4 separate regions of the Homo sapiens genome follow, and regions 1, 2 and 4 are each linked to region 3. Evidence: promoter capture Hi-C in 16 types of primary human blood cells and fetal thymus (Javierre and others, 2016). All regions are on one chromosome and are shown on one strand. The core of a region is centred on a gene start or on the middle of the fragment in contact, and the rest is flanking DNA. Distances in the headings are between cores, read along the strand shown.

Evidence for each region. The method cuts DNA at HindIII sites, captures the fragments that hold promoters and counts their contacts. A CHiCAGO score of 5 or more calls a contact.
Region 1: a contact is called between a fragment that was not itself captured here and the fragment with the promoter of SGCE in region 3, in 1 of 17 cell types (fetal thymus). The highest score is 6.3, in fetal thymus.
Region 2: a contact is called between a fragment that was not itself captured here and the fragment with the promoter of SGCE in region 3, in 2 of 17 cell types (M2 macrophages and M0 macrophages). The highest score is 6.4, in M2 macrophages.
Region 4: a fragment that was not itself captured here is called in contact with the fragment with the promoter of SGCE in region 3 in 2 of 17 cell types (M2 macrophages and M0 macrophages); the score reaches 6.2 in M2 macrophages.

What each region holds. Positions count from the first base shown.
Region 1 is chr7:95,487,134-95,489,846 of GRCh38, reverse strand. All of the region lies in intron 1 of ASB4 (ankyrin repeat and SOCS box containing 4), which reads right to left. Among named protein-coding and RNA genes, the nearest start is that of ASB4, 2.5 kb to the right of the region's middle. The HindIII fragment of the contact is 2,068 bases long and covers 350-2,417 here.
Region 2 is chr7:95,241,522-95,244,276 of GRCh38, reverse strand. All of the region lies in intron 8 of PPP1R9A (protein phosphatase 1 regulatory subunit 9A), which reads right to left. Among named protein-coding and RNA genes, the nearest start is that of PPP1R9A-AS1, 29 kb to the right of the region's middle. The HindIII fragment of the contact is 1,282 bases long and covers 842-2,123 here.
Region 3 is chr7:94,654,806-94,657,535 of GRCh38, reverse strand. SGCE (sarcoglycan epsilon) reads left to right here and starts at 1,403. Exons shown (of 11, transcript NM_003919.3): 1 at 1,403-1,546. The coding sequence starts at 1,438. PEG10 (paternally expressed 10) reads right to left here and starts at 1,211. Exons shown (of 2, transcript NM_001172437.2): 1 at 945-1,211. The coding sequence starts at 949. RefSeq lists enhancers at 1-8, 1,278-2,055. The HindIII fragment of the contact is 19,954 bases long and covers 1-2,730 here.
Region 4 is chr7:95,197,248-95,200,404 of GRCh38, reverse strand. It overlaps PPP1R9A (protein phosphatase 1 regulatory subunit 9A), which reads right to left. Exons shown (of 20, transcript NM_001166160.2): 6 at 1,921-2,056. All of the region lies in intron 1 of PPP1R9A-AS1 (PPP1R9A antisense RNA 1), which reads left to right. Among named protein-coding and RNA genes, the nearest start is that of PPP1R9A-AS1, 16 kb to the left of the region's middle. The HindIII fragment of the contact is 834 bases long and covers 1,381-2,214 here.

The DNA.
Region 1 (2,713 bases), core at 134-2,633, 830 kb before region 3:
TTCTTTAAAGATTTCTTCTGTGCTTGACTTCACTCTAAATACTCAGTGGTTGGCTCATAATTAATGTTATATCACTGACATCCCTTGACTTTCAATGACTTATTGCATTTGGCAGTTAGAAAGTCATTCTTTATGTTTTCTTTATATCGTTTTTATTTTAAAGTGATCATCTGGTAAACGCAATTTTGGCTTACTTGTTTTTGCTTTTAAGACCCATTATCTCCGCCATTCCCAGGGAGGTCTCTCAAATGCCAACCAGCACATTTTAAATGTTTGCTTTACAAAATGTGAGAAAAGTTTCTTTAAATTAATAAAACATGATTTCATCTGCAGATTTTATTATGAAGCTTAAAATAACTTAGAAAAGTAAAGTGAGAGCTCTCTAACTTTAAGAATCATGATTAGGTGCTGGAGAAAGACAGGATCCACAGTTTGAACATGAACTCTGGAGGCTGGCTTCTAAATCTGTTCTCTGCCAAATTGGTAAGAGAAGCTATTCAATGAGATGGGCCCAGTGCTACAGAGGAAAGCAGAAATGAGCTTCCAGACTTATTTGTAATCCAATAGCTTTATTCTGTCTTCCTCACAAAATACACATTTCATATTTGCTTATGAGCTAAACTTTTGATTACTGGTGTGCCCAGTAGATTGTAAATTTGGGAAGCACTATTTAGATTTTAGGTGATTTATTTGCCAGCAGAGTTCTGAGTTCCCTTTTCAAAAATTATACACTGACTTTCATATAGGCTTAGATGGACTATATTTAGGGATAAAATTTAGTTACTTCTTAAATCCTATAAAAATGCTGTATGTTCTAAATAAATAAGAATGGTTTAGAATTGATTGTACTACTTTTCACTTTCTATAGGACTATCAAATGTTGAATATAGAATTTTAGTATTGATTACACAAGGAAATTTAAGAGTAGCATGAGATTCGTTATAGGTTTTGTGCATTGTCTTTCTTATTAAGCCAAAAATAACTGAAACCTGAAGATTCCCACACTTTAAAAGTAAACAGGAATGCTCTGTTTCCTCATCTGGATGCTGGTTACATAGGTTTGTTATTTTGTGAAAAGTAATCAAGCTGCACACTTATTTATGCACTTTTGCGGAGAGCTTTTCAAAAGTGCTTTAAAAAAATCAAAGAGCAGTGTGTAGCAGTTCAACAGCGTCCAAGGTCCAAAACTTCTCCTTTGATTTAATAAAGTCTCACAAACTTTAATCCAGCCACATACCTTTTAAGGCCACACAGAAATGGGTCCTATTCCTTTGAACTATTTAGAAAAGAACTAACTAACCACTGTAGACTGCTCAGCTCCACGCTGTTGCCTGACAATGACTTTATGACTTAAGAAATTGATATAACCACTTAGATCTACTAGCAGCTAGGATTCTATTTGTCATTTCCATTCCTAACTTTCCATTCCTAAGTTTAAAAGGATCGATGATAAGGTTGGAAGCATGTGAAAAAAATTGGAAGAAACTTCTTTTTTTTTTTCTTTTTGAGACGGAGTCTCCCTGTGTCACCCAGGCTGGAGTGCAGTGGCGCCATCTGGGCTCACTGCAAGCTCCGCCTCCCGGGTTCACACCATTCTCCTGTCTCAGCCTCGGGAGTAGCTGGGACTACAGGCGGCCGCCACCGCGCCTGGCTAATTTTTTGTATTTTTAGTAGAAATGGGGTTTCACCGTGTTAGGCAGGATGGTCTCTATCTCCTGACCTCGTGATCAGCCCACCTCGGCCTCTCAAAGTGCTGGGATTACAGGCGTGAGCCACCACTCCCGGCCTGAAGAAACTTTTAAGAAAGATGAAGTTTTAACCTGGGTTTAAGACTAAAGAGACAGGTCCTTGTGCCCATGTGCGTATTAAACAGAGTAGTGGAGAAGTGTGTTTCAAGTGTGTTTCTTTCTACACATGAGTGCAGACACAAATTTCCTGCATAAACCCTAAAAGTAAGACCACAAATTTTACTAGTTCTGTGCAAGCATCCACTTGGCATACATAAGAATGGAACTGTTCTTTTCCTTTTCCAGAGGGTGTAATTTGCTATCTCCCTAATTGAAAGCCACATCCCACAGTCCTAACACTATGAAAACACCTCAATTCGTGGGAATGAAAATTTAGCTCTATGAGGACCATAGGAGTCAGCTCATATTGACAAGAAGAATTTAAAATGTATTTTCTTTTCCTTCAAGGAAGATGACACCGGTGGAAGTAGGAGAACCAACCCCACCTCTCCCCTCCACTTCCCTAGAGCCTGCACCTAAAACTTGGTTTCTTATATCCTCAGAAACTTCCCACAATCTGTGCAACTTGGCCTGCTCAGATGAGAGAAGACAGTCTTTGCAACTCAGGGTCAAATAACTTACCCACTGACTTGAACCTGAGTTATTTCACCCTAGGCACAAATATAAGCTTTTTAAAAACATCTTAAAAATTAGTTTAGCATTCAGACATTCTATCACTGAACAAAATTATAAGATGAAAGCAATCTGATTATATAGTATACAAATTTTCTAACAGACCCCATAAACTTTTTAAAAAATAGATCCCTTCTTTGTCTTCCCATCAAAATATTAATGCCATTAATGCCAAAATATTATAAAGCCCTTGAGTAAAAATCATAAACATAGTAACTAGCCTGAGCTCTTCTATATGTCCCTCAGAACTGACAATCGGAGGACAGTAAATTAATGAAGAAATATATACTGTA
Region 2 (2,755 bases), core at 233-2,732, 590 kb before region 3:
GATCTATTCTACCCTTTCCATCTCACCAAAAATGGATAACAGGAGGGAACTGAACTAATTAGCAGTGAGGTGAGAACAACTGCGCAAAGTTTGGAGTGTTACTAAGTATAGCTAAATTCTTTACATATAGGAAAGCAGAATGAATTGTGTAAATTCACATTATTCAGAATGGACAAGATTTTCTTAGTACACATGAGGCCTAAAATTAAAAATATGCGATTATTTTAATTCTGTATGTACATTAAGAGAATTTCTACAAATCCATCACTTTTGACAAGAAAAGCATCAAAATACACTAACTGAACCCTTTTTGTTTTATATAGTATGGACCTGTGTCTAGTGAGCTTACCTTGGAAGGCTATTAGGTGCCAAAGCCAGGTTTTAGAAATCCCAGCCCATGGTTCTTTCCACTAATACTAAATTTCTTACATTTGTAGGCCCCTTTATTTTTAATCATCTCCCTTTATCATTGCAAATGACTGGGGGAGGCAGGGCAGGTGTTGTGAACCTCATGGTTCAGATGAGGAAAGAGGCTCAGGGAAGTCACACACCTTTTCAAGTTCCCACTAGAAACAGGTGATGGAGCGGAAACAAAACCAGATTTGACTCTTCCTACCTCTGTTCCTCCCTTAACCATGTATCTAACTGAACCAGTTGCTTTGGGATATATTTTTCATTTAATCTTCCCCCAAACCCCAAGCCATATGTCATCATCATAACCTCTCAGATGAGAAGTTATTACTCCAACTGGAAACCATGGATCACTTCTGGTAGTCTCTGAGCATTCTGACAGTGAATGCAAAATGGTGCTCAATCAGCTGCTGTTATTATTAATGAAGCTTAGAAAGCAGACCTCCACCTCCCTTAATAATCAATTGGCCTTTAGTGACTGAGACTACGTGCTAGGTACTATGCTAATCACTGAGGATACATGAACATGACATAGAATCTACTTTCAAGATACTTCAGGGAGATTAATAAAAACACCTTGTAAGAATTCTCCAGATCACCCTGTGAGAAAGGTCAGAGGCAACCTGCTGCTGGATGGCTTGTTTAGTCTTTTGTTCCTATAGCCAGATCAGATGTCATGTGTCTTTGGCCTGTTTGTCCAGACGTGGACCCTACTTTCCAAGCAAAGTGAGCAAGATGGACCCAAGTTATCTCCATTTCATGAGGAAAAGAAAATTGCTTTTCACAGGGGTGAAGGACCTCGACAAATGAAGCATAGTTGGTAAAAGGTTGAGTTTTCTTATTCTAGAGCAGTTCCCTTTCCACATGTTTAAGAGATTTATGTCAAGAATCAATAACCTTTTCAAAGTACAGGTCCAAGAGTTTGCAAGAATGGTCAGGCACGCTGACTGCAGGGATAGAAGGTTAACAGGGCTGGTTAATAGAAATAGAGCCTGAGATGCCTGTTGGAGTTTTTGGGCTTCAGAGAAGCTAGGTTTGGAGAAAAGAGTTGGGATTAGGAGGGCATAAATAAAAAGAAAAGGTTAAGGACTGCAGGTAAAAGTCTTTTAACTTACAAGACCATCATTTTCATCTCTTCAGTCATCTTTAATATGAAAGCCATAGATATGCACCTCAGGATTTCAGCACAAATAAACATACACATTCCTATGAGAACAGGAGCTTTCATTTAACATTCTGAAGGTGTACCTGCTGTGTATAATTTTTTTTTCAAAAAGATGAATACAGAACATGCACTCATATTACCGGATCGATATAATCCAAATATAACTGTGCTAGAAATAGAAACATCCTTTACACAGAAACTTAAATAGTGAGACTGAACTTTTGCCCTCTCTCTACTTATCCTGTGAGAGCATGGAAACATTTTTCTTTAAAAAGTGAAAAATATCTTTGCAGGAAATGTTTTAAGAGAGCTCTAGTTCTAGAAATATTACAATCAGATAAGGGCAACATTTTCTGCTGTTGCTTTACAAAAGCAAATCAATAACTAATATTTGCATAGAACTTTATAAAGTGCTTTCTAGATTGGGATCTAAATTTTTAGTTATCTTTGTGAGTATTTGAGTGATGTATGTCTTACCTACAACAATATAGCTTCACAAAAGAAATCAAAGCTGTTTTTAACTACATTTTGGTGTTAAGATGAAGCTTTGCCATATTTCTTTGTAATTTCTGCTGAAAAGTTTACATATGGTATCTATCCAGTATTAACGAAAGTGTTTTACTTAGGGAATCATGTATGCAAAATGAACTAAAACTGGCTGACTGAACAATATCACAATCTAATCTGAATGGTAACACTAATGGCAGCATATGTAGCATTGGGTGAGATTCTCTAACAAGGTCACTCCCTAAGTAGGTACTCATAAACTTGTTATTAATGATGCTGCTGCTGGATGTAGTTGATGGCCTGTAATTACAGCTCTTTTTTAAATAAGTAACTGTTTGCTATTAAGTAGGCAGCAATTTATAGCTTCCCTACATGGTAGTGGAAACTTCCATAAAGATAACTTAATGTTATTATCCCATGCATTTTATAACTTTTCTAGATTCTTTTTCATAGAATTAAATAAATAAAATAAACCAACTTTTAGACTCCATTTTTTCTTCAAGAGAAATGTCGAATTTTTTTAATTGTTGCAATTGCTGTGACTCCTGAGGAGGAATGGCAAGGGAGAAATTGGACAGTCACTTTAAATGGTACCTGGCTAACAGTTCCTGAGCCAGCCTCGCCGTACCTTCCATTAAACTGCCAGTGTAATCACATTAAAAACAAAAAAAC
Region 3 (2,730 bases), core at 154-2,653:
CCACTGCTATAGCGGGAATGGTGTGGGCAGAATGTTAAACACTAATTTTTGCCCGGGGCTCCATTTTGTCTACCAGCACCATCATGCGAGAACCGTCCTGCAGAAAAATAGAGTGGGAGCCATTCCAAAAGGTGAAAGGGTGGGGTCCTGCTCCAAGAAAACAGAGGAATTGTACTCCGCAGCTCATGTCCCACTACGGCTGCTTTATTTGTAGCGCAAACGGTCTGCAGCTCCTGTACCTCTGCAGCTCTTACCACTTTGTAGTGCATCTTAGGTGTGAATTGTTCCGCAGCTCATGTACCTCTGCAGTTCATGTGCCTCGCAGCGCAATGAAGCGCTGTTGTCGGGCTGGCTAATCGCATCGTTTTTGTAGCGTTTTTTGTAGTGCTACTCTTCTGCAGCTCAGATTTTGCAGCGCATGTAAAGCGCAATTCAGTTTTCTGTCTGCAGCTCCTATATCGCTGCTCCTCGTTCTGGATTGTAGCGCCACTGAAGCGCCCATCCGTCAGTTTGTGGCACATAAAGCGCCCATCAGTTTATAGCGCAATGAAGCGCCAGTTGTAGCTCCCATCAGTTTGTCGCCCGCGTGAAGCGTGCTTGTAGCGCATCTGAAGCGCCAGTTTGTAGCGCATTTGAAGCGCTTATCTGTTTGTAAAGCATGGCACTTGGTAGCGCATTTGAAGAGCAAATTGCAAATCGATCTATAGCTCCTGACCGTCTGCAGCTCATCACTGTCCGCAGCTCATCTCTGTCTACAGCCCGTATCTGGACTTGGTCCTGGAAACCCAAGCCTTTAAGGCTTGGTTTCCCCATTTGTTTTGGGGTACAGCCAGTGAAGGCGTGACAAGTTTTGCGTGGAGACATTCTGGGGTGCTACTCCATCTCCCGCAGCTCCCGATAAGCACGGGGAATGAACGTGATCTTTAAAAAAAAAACGTCCTCACCGCATACTCACCACGCGAGGACTCCTCTGCGAAGACAGGAAGGATGGGGTCCCACACCTGAGCCAGGCGCGGTCTCCACTGGGTGCTCCGCAGCCCGGAGTGGCTCCGGACGACAGCCCGCTCAGCGGACCTTTCGCCAGGCTCGGTGGACCTTCTCCGCTGTTCTCCTCAGGGCGCAGTCAGGTTTCTTCGACACACACCAACCGAAGTTGAAGCGCGTGTACCAGGAGCGCAGACTGTGAGCCTTATATAGGTTGCACCGAGGAGGGGGGCGCCAAATCCCAGCGTGCTCCGCGGGCTAGGGGGTGGAGGGGGGTGCGGGGATGGGGGATGGGGGTGGGGGCGGTGGCCACGCTGCAGTGGCCCGCCGCTAGAGGGAGTACGGGATTACCGAGGGGGTGCGGGATGCTGATGCTGAACTGGCCAAGCTGGGAGGGAAGAAGAAAGGGAGGGGAGGGGAGAATCGAGGACGGACGGCCTAGCCAGGCCAAGAATGCAATTGCCCCGGTGGTGGGAGCTGGGAGACCCCTGTGCTTGGACGGGACAGGGTCGGGGGACACGCAGGATGAGCCCCGCGACCACTGGCACATTCTTGCTGACAGGTTAGTGGCCTGCGCGCGACGTGGAGGTCCCGGGGCCAACAGGCCGCCGCCTCCCCCTCCCCCGCTCGGGTTCCGGGCGCCTGAGCGCGCCCTTTGGGCACCAGCCTCTCTTTCTGTCCCGGACCCCACCGTACCCCTCCTTCAGTACACCCTGTACCCCATTTCCCCGGCCCAGCTTCTCTCTCCCCAGGCTTGACCCCTGGCCTTTTTTTCCTCTCCGCGCCCCCGCGGGCCCCTCCCTGCTCTGCGGGCGCAGAAATTCCATCTCCAATTCCTGTTCCCAACATCCCCCTCCCCGCCCAGCCCCAGGGTAGTCCTCTCCCGATCCCTGTAGCAAAGAGCTGGGGGTCGTTGCCTGTTTTTCTGGGGGGCCCGTTTCCCCGCGATTGGGCTCTGCGACCGCGATGCGAGCCAAAGGAAATGGGTGTCAAGCTGCGTCCCCGCTACACAAACACATCTTTTTTCCTTTTCTTGATAGTGGTAGAGAACACAAAAATGTGACATTTAAAACACCGAATTTCCCCCTCTTGCTAAGTGCATTTCTCGGTGACGGAAATCTCGGTTTTCTTCGGTTTTACGGAGCAGGGAAGCGGAATCATGAAATGCTGGGAGCTAAACAGGGCGTTCAGGTCAGGGTTAACCCCGGCTGGAGGCCAGAGATGCTGCCGTACCGAGTGCGCTATTTCCAGAAACCAAAACCAATTTAAAACAGCTGTGGATGCTTCCAGTGTGTTTGGCGGGCTTTGAAGGCTCCCAGCTACCGACTTTTGGTGGCGATTACGAGGTTTACACAGAGACCTTGCTTCCCTTGCAACGTTACATTTTCCTAAATCTTGTAGGGTGAATGAATGCGTTTAGTCACGGCAACCGCACGTTTAATCCTTTCCAGCGGGTTGCCGAGATTCGGCCACAAATATTTGCGTGCATTTGTACTATGAACATATATATTTTATGTCAGGGAAAATTGCAGTGGCTGATAAGACGCTAAAATTCTGATGAGGAAGGATGCTAAATAAAACCTTAACGCGGATTCCCATCTAAGCGCCTCAGTGTCAGGTGCTTGGGAAACTGACAATCTGTTGATGATCTTAGTAAAACAAGTTTAAGTTAAAAGGGAAAACCAAATTGTCTACAGCTGAGTTAGGTTTCTGAAACACAGATGAAACGCTTTCATATTTGAAGAG
Region 4 (3,157 bases), core at 548-3,047, 540 kb before region 3:
AGCTACTCAGGAGGCTGAGGCAAGGCAGGAGGTTGGCTTGAGCCCAGGAGCTCAAGGATATAGTGAGCTATGCTTGCACCACTGCACTCCAGCCTGGGTGGCAGAGCAAGACCCTGTGTCGTAAAAAAAAAAAAAGAGCAAAATTTTATATCAACTTTTGGGGATGAATGTGATCAGCGCCTCAAAATACCTGCAGAAAATGTGTGGTCTGTGATCTAAATGTTTTACTTGGAGTGCCTTAAAAATGTGACTATCTTCTTTCTTTGCCCCCTCTGCTTGTTAGACTTGATGTCTTATTTCATATTCATGGAACATTAGAAGCTGGAAGGAATTTTGTGATCTAGCCCAATCCCTGTGCTTTCATGCCAAAGACACCAAGGCACACAGACTAGAAAGCCTGGCCATGTCCCCTTCCACCACTTGATGTCACTGTACTCCCCTGAACCTAAGACCAAAAATCCTAGCACAGTGAGGACGCAAAAATCAAACCTGCAGAAAATGATTCTACAATCTCAGAATAAGCTTGCAGCAAAAGCAAATCAGTGTCTCTGATAAAATACAAAATACTAATGTAAAGAATTGAAAACCAGGTAAGATACAAGTTCAAAATATTTGAGGAAATCCCTTTTTTAGTTTGAAAATTCAAGAGAACATTTTTCATACAAAATATCTCAGTGTAATGAAAATATACTTGCCATTTCAAATGGACTCACCAAGTAAGAAAATAAATTAAATCAAGTTCTAAGAGTCTAATTCATTCATTTAAAGGATTTCTAATATATTATTCTTTGATCAAAAGTTAACGGATATACCACCTCTAATTTTCTGCTATAAGTGGAGAATATATCCTCATTATACCACATATTCATGAGATCTTAATATACATTGGGATTAAAACATCTCAGATTAAAAATATGTGAAAATATTTGAATGTCTGTTTATTAATATCTATATCCTGGCTAGAAAGCAAAATTCTGAAAAATTATATATTCAGATAAGAAGGGGTTGAATACATGAAGTTTCACTGTGGTTATATTAGCTGGAATGAAGAATATTTGTTTTACCTGAATATGTACTAGTTTATGGAGTATAAAATACTACAATTAAATTGTTGATGGATCTTTTGACACACCAATATGAAACACATGAATGTTTAAACGTGTTTATAATAAAGCATGTTGTCCCATTATATCAATGTACATTTCAAAGACATTAGAAATAGACCAGCATCTGTATTATATTACAGCACACAAGGGTTCTGGAGAGCTGTTTTCACTTGGGGGTTAGCTTCTATTCATTTACTTGATCTTTTACAGAAAGCAGGATGTAAAATTATTCCAATATGTATCTGCTCTATGGAACATGTGCTAGTGGAAAGCTTTGTTCTGCATTATGTTAGCACAAATCATAGTAAGCAGATCCAAAGAACTTTTTCTTCCTGGGGGAAAAAGACACTGGAAACACTCAGCAATCTTTAGTACTTTTCTATGTATATTTGTTTGTGTATGGGTGTGTTTACTGATTTTTTGGAAAAGCATTACATACTATTGTAGAACATTTGGAAAAGATTGAAAAAATATAAAGCAGAGAGAGAAAATCACCCAATTCCACCAATAAAGATGACATTATTCACATTTTTGTGTTTTTATCCTTTTCTGTTTCTATGACTTCCTTTATAATAGTGCAAAAGATAAGACTTATTTGTGTCCACAGTCTTCATACTGTAAACAGGATACCATGACTTGATTCTTAAGCGTATATCAGATGCGAGTAGTATTTCTTTTCTAAGGTAGAATTTTAGTTCAATGTGGACACACCTTCCTCAAGAAACTGCATAAAACCTGTCATACTGTTATACAGTAGAGAGAGTTTCATGAATTAGAAAATGTGGGAAAAAGAATCTTTGCAAGCACTACTGACCTCGTCATCGTCGGCATCATACTGGGCATAGTGCTGTTCCAGCAGCTCTCTCTGGCGCCTCTCCTGTTCCAGTGTCTGGCTTATCAACTGGGCAACCTCGCTCACTTGTCCTGGTTTTTCCCGCCCAATAACAAATCTGTGGAAAGGTTAACAAAGACTAATATTTAAGACTCTCCAACAAAAAGGAGTTTTAAGAAAAGTAAACAGGTTTGATCTCAGCAGGGTCCATCAAGCCTCAAGAAAGTAATATCACCTACGTACTTCAAAATGGTTTTCTTGGGTGAGAAGAAAGCTTAGATGTGCAATTAAAGTGATTTTTAGGGACACAGCTCATAAAGGAAAAGAAGGGGGAAAAAAGTAAAGGACCATAAAAATTATCATTTTAAGAGAAGATGTAATATACGTAACCCATTCTGCAGTACTTTACACATTTTTGATGCCATACAAAATAGAAGCAAGCTCATAATTTCCTGTACCATTGAACTAAAGAAGCATTTGTGTAACTATAACAAAAATTACTTCAAAAACATTTTGAGGGCTGGGCTCAGTGGCTCAAGCCTATAATCCCAACACTTTGGGAGGCAAAGGTGGGTGGATCACCTGAGGCCCGGAGTTCGAGAGCAGCCTGGCCAAGAAGGCAAAATCCCGTCTCTACTAAAAATACAAAAATTAGCCGGGCGTGGTGGCGCGCACCTGTAGTCCCAGCTACTCTGGAGGCTGAGGCAGGAGAATCGTTTGAATCCGAGAGGCGGAGGTTGCAGTGAGCCAAGACCGCGCCACTGCACTCCAGCCTGGGTGACAGAGACTCTGTCTCAAACCAACAACAACAACAACAACAAACATTTTGACGCATAGCATAACTCAGGTGGCTAAATATATAACTTTGAAATAAGAGAAAAGGAAAACTTAAGTGTTTTTTGTTTTTAAAATGAAAAACTGTAATAACAAGAGGTAGTGAATTAATTCACTTCCTTTGGGGGGAAAGATAGTATGAGAAGGGGTGTGATTCAATAAATAAGGGAGGAAAGGAAATATTTGTTATTAATGCCTATAAAAAAAGCCTAAAGAGAAAAACAAGTAAGATATTTCCTTATTGCAAGCTACAGTCACTTATGGTATATTGTTGCCAACATAATGTGTTGTGCTCAACAATTTAATATTCATTTTTTAACATCTTTTCACACTAATATGTTTCTGTTTTTCTAAAAATACGAATAATGTGTCTCTAGGATGCAGT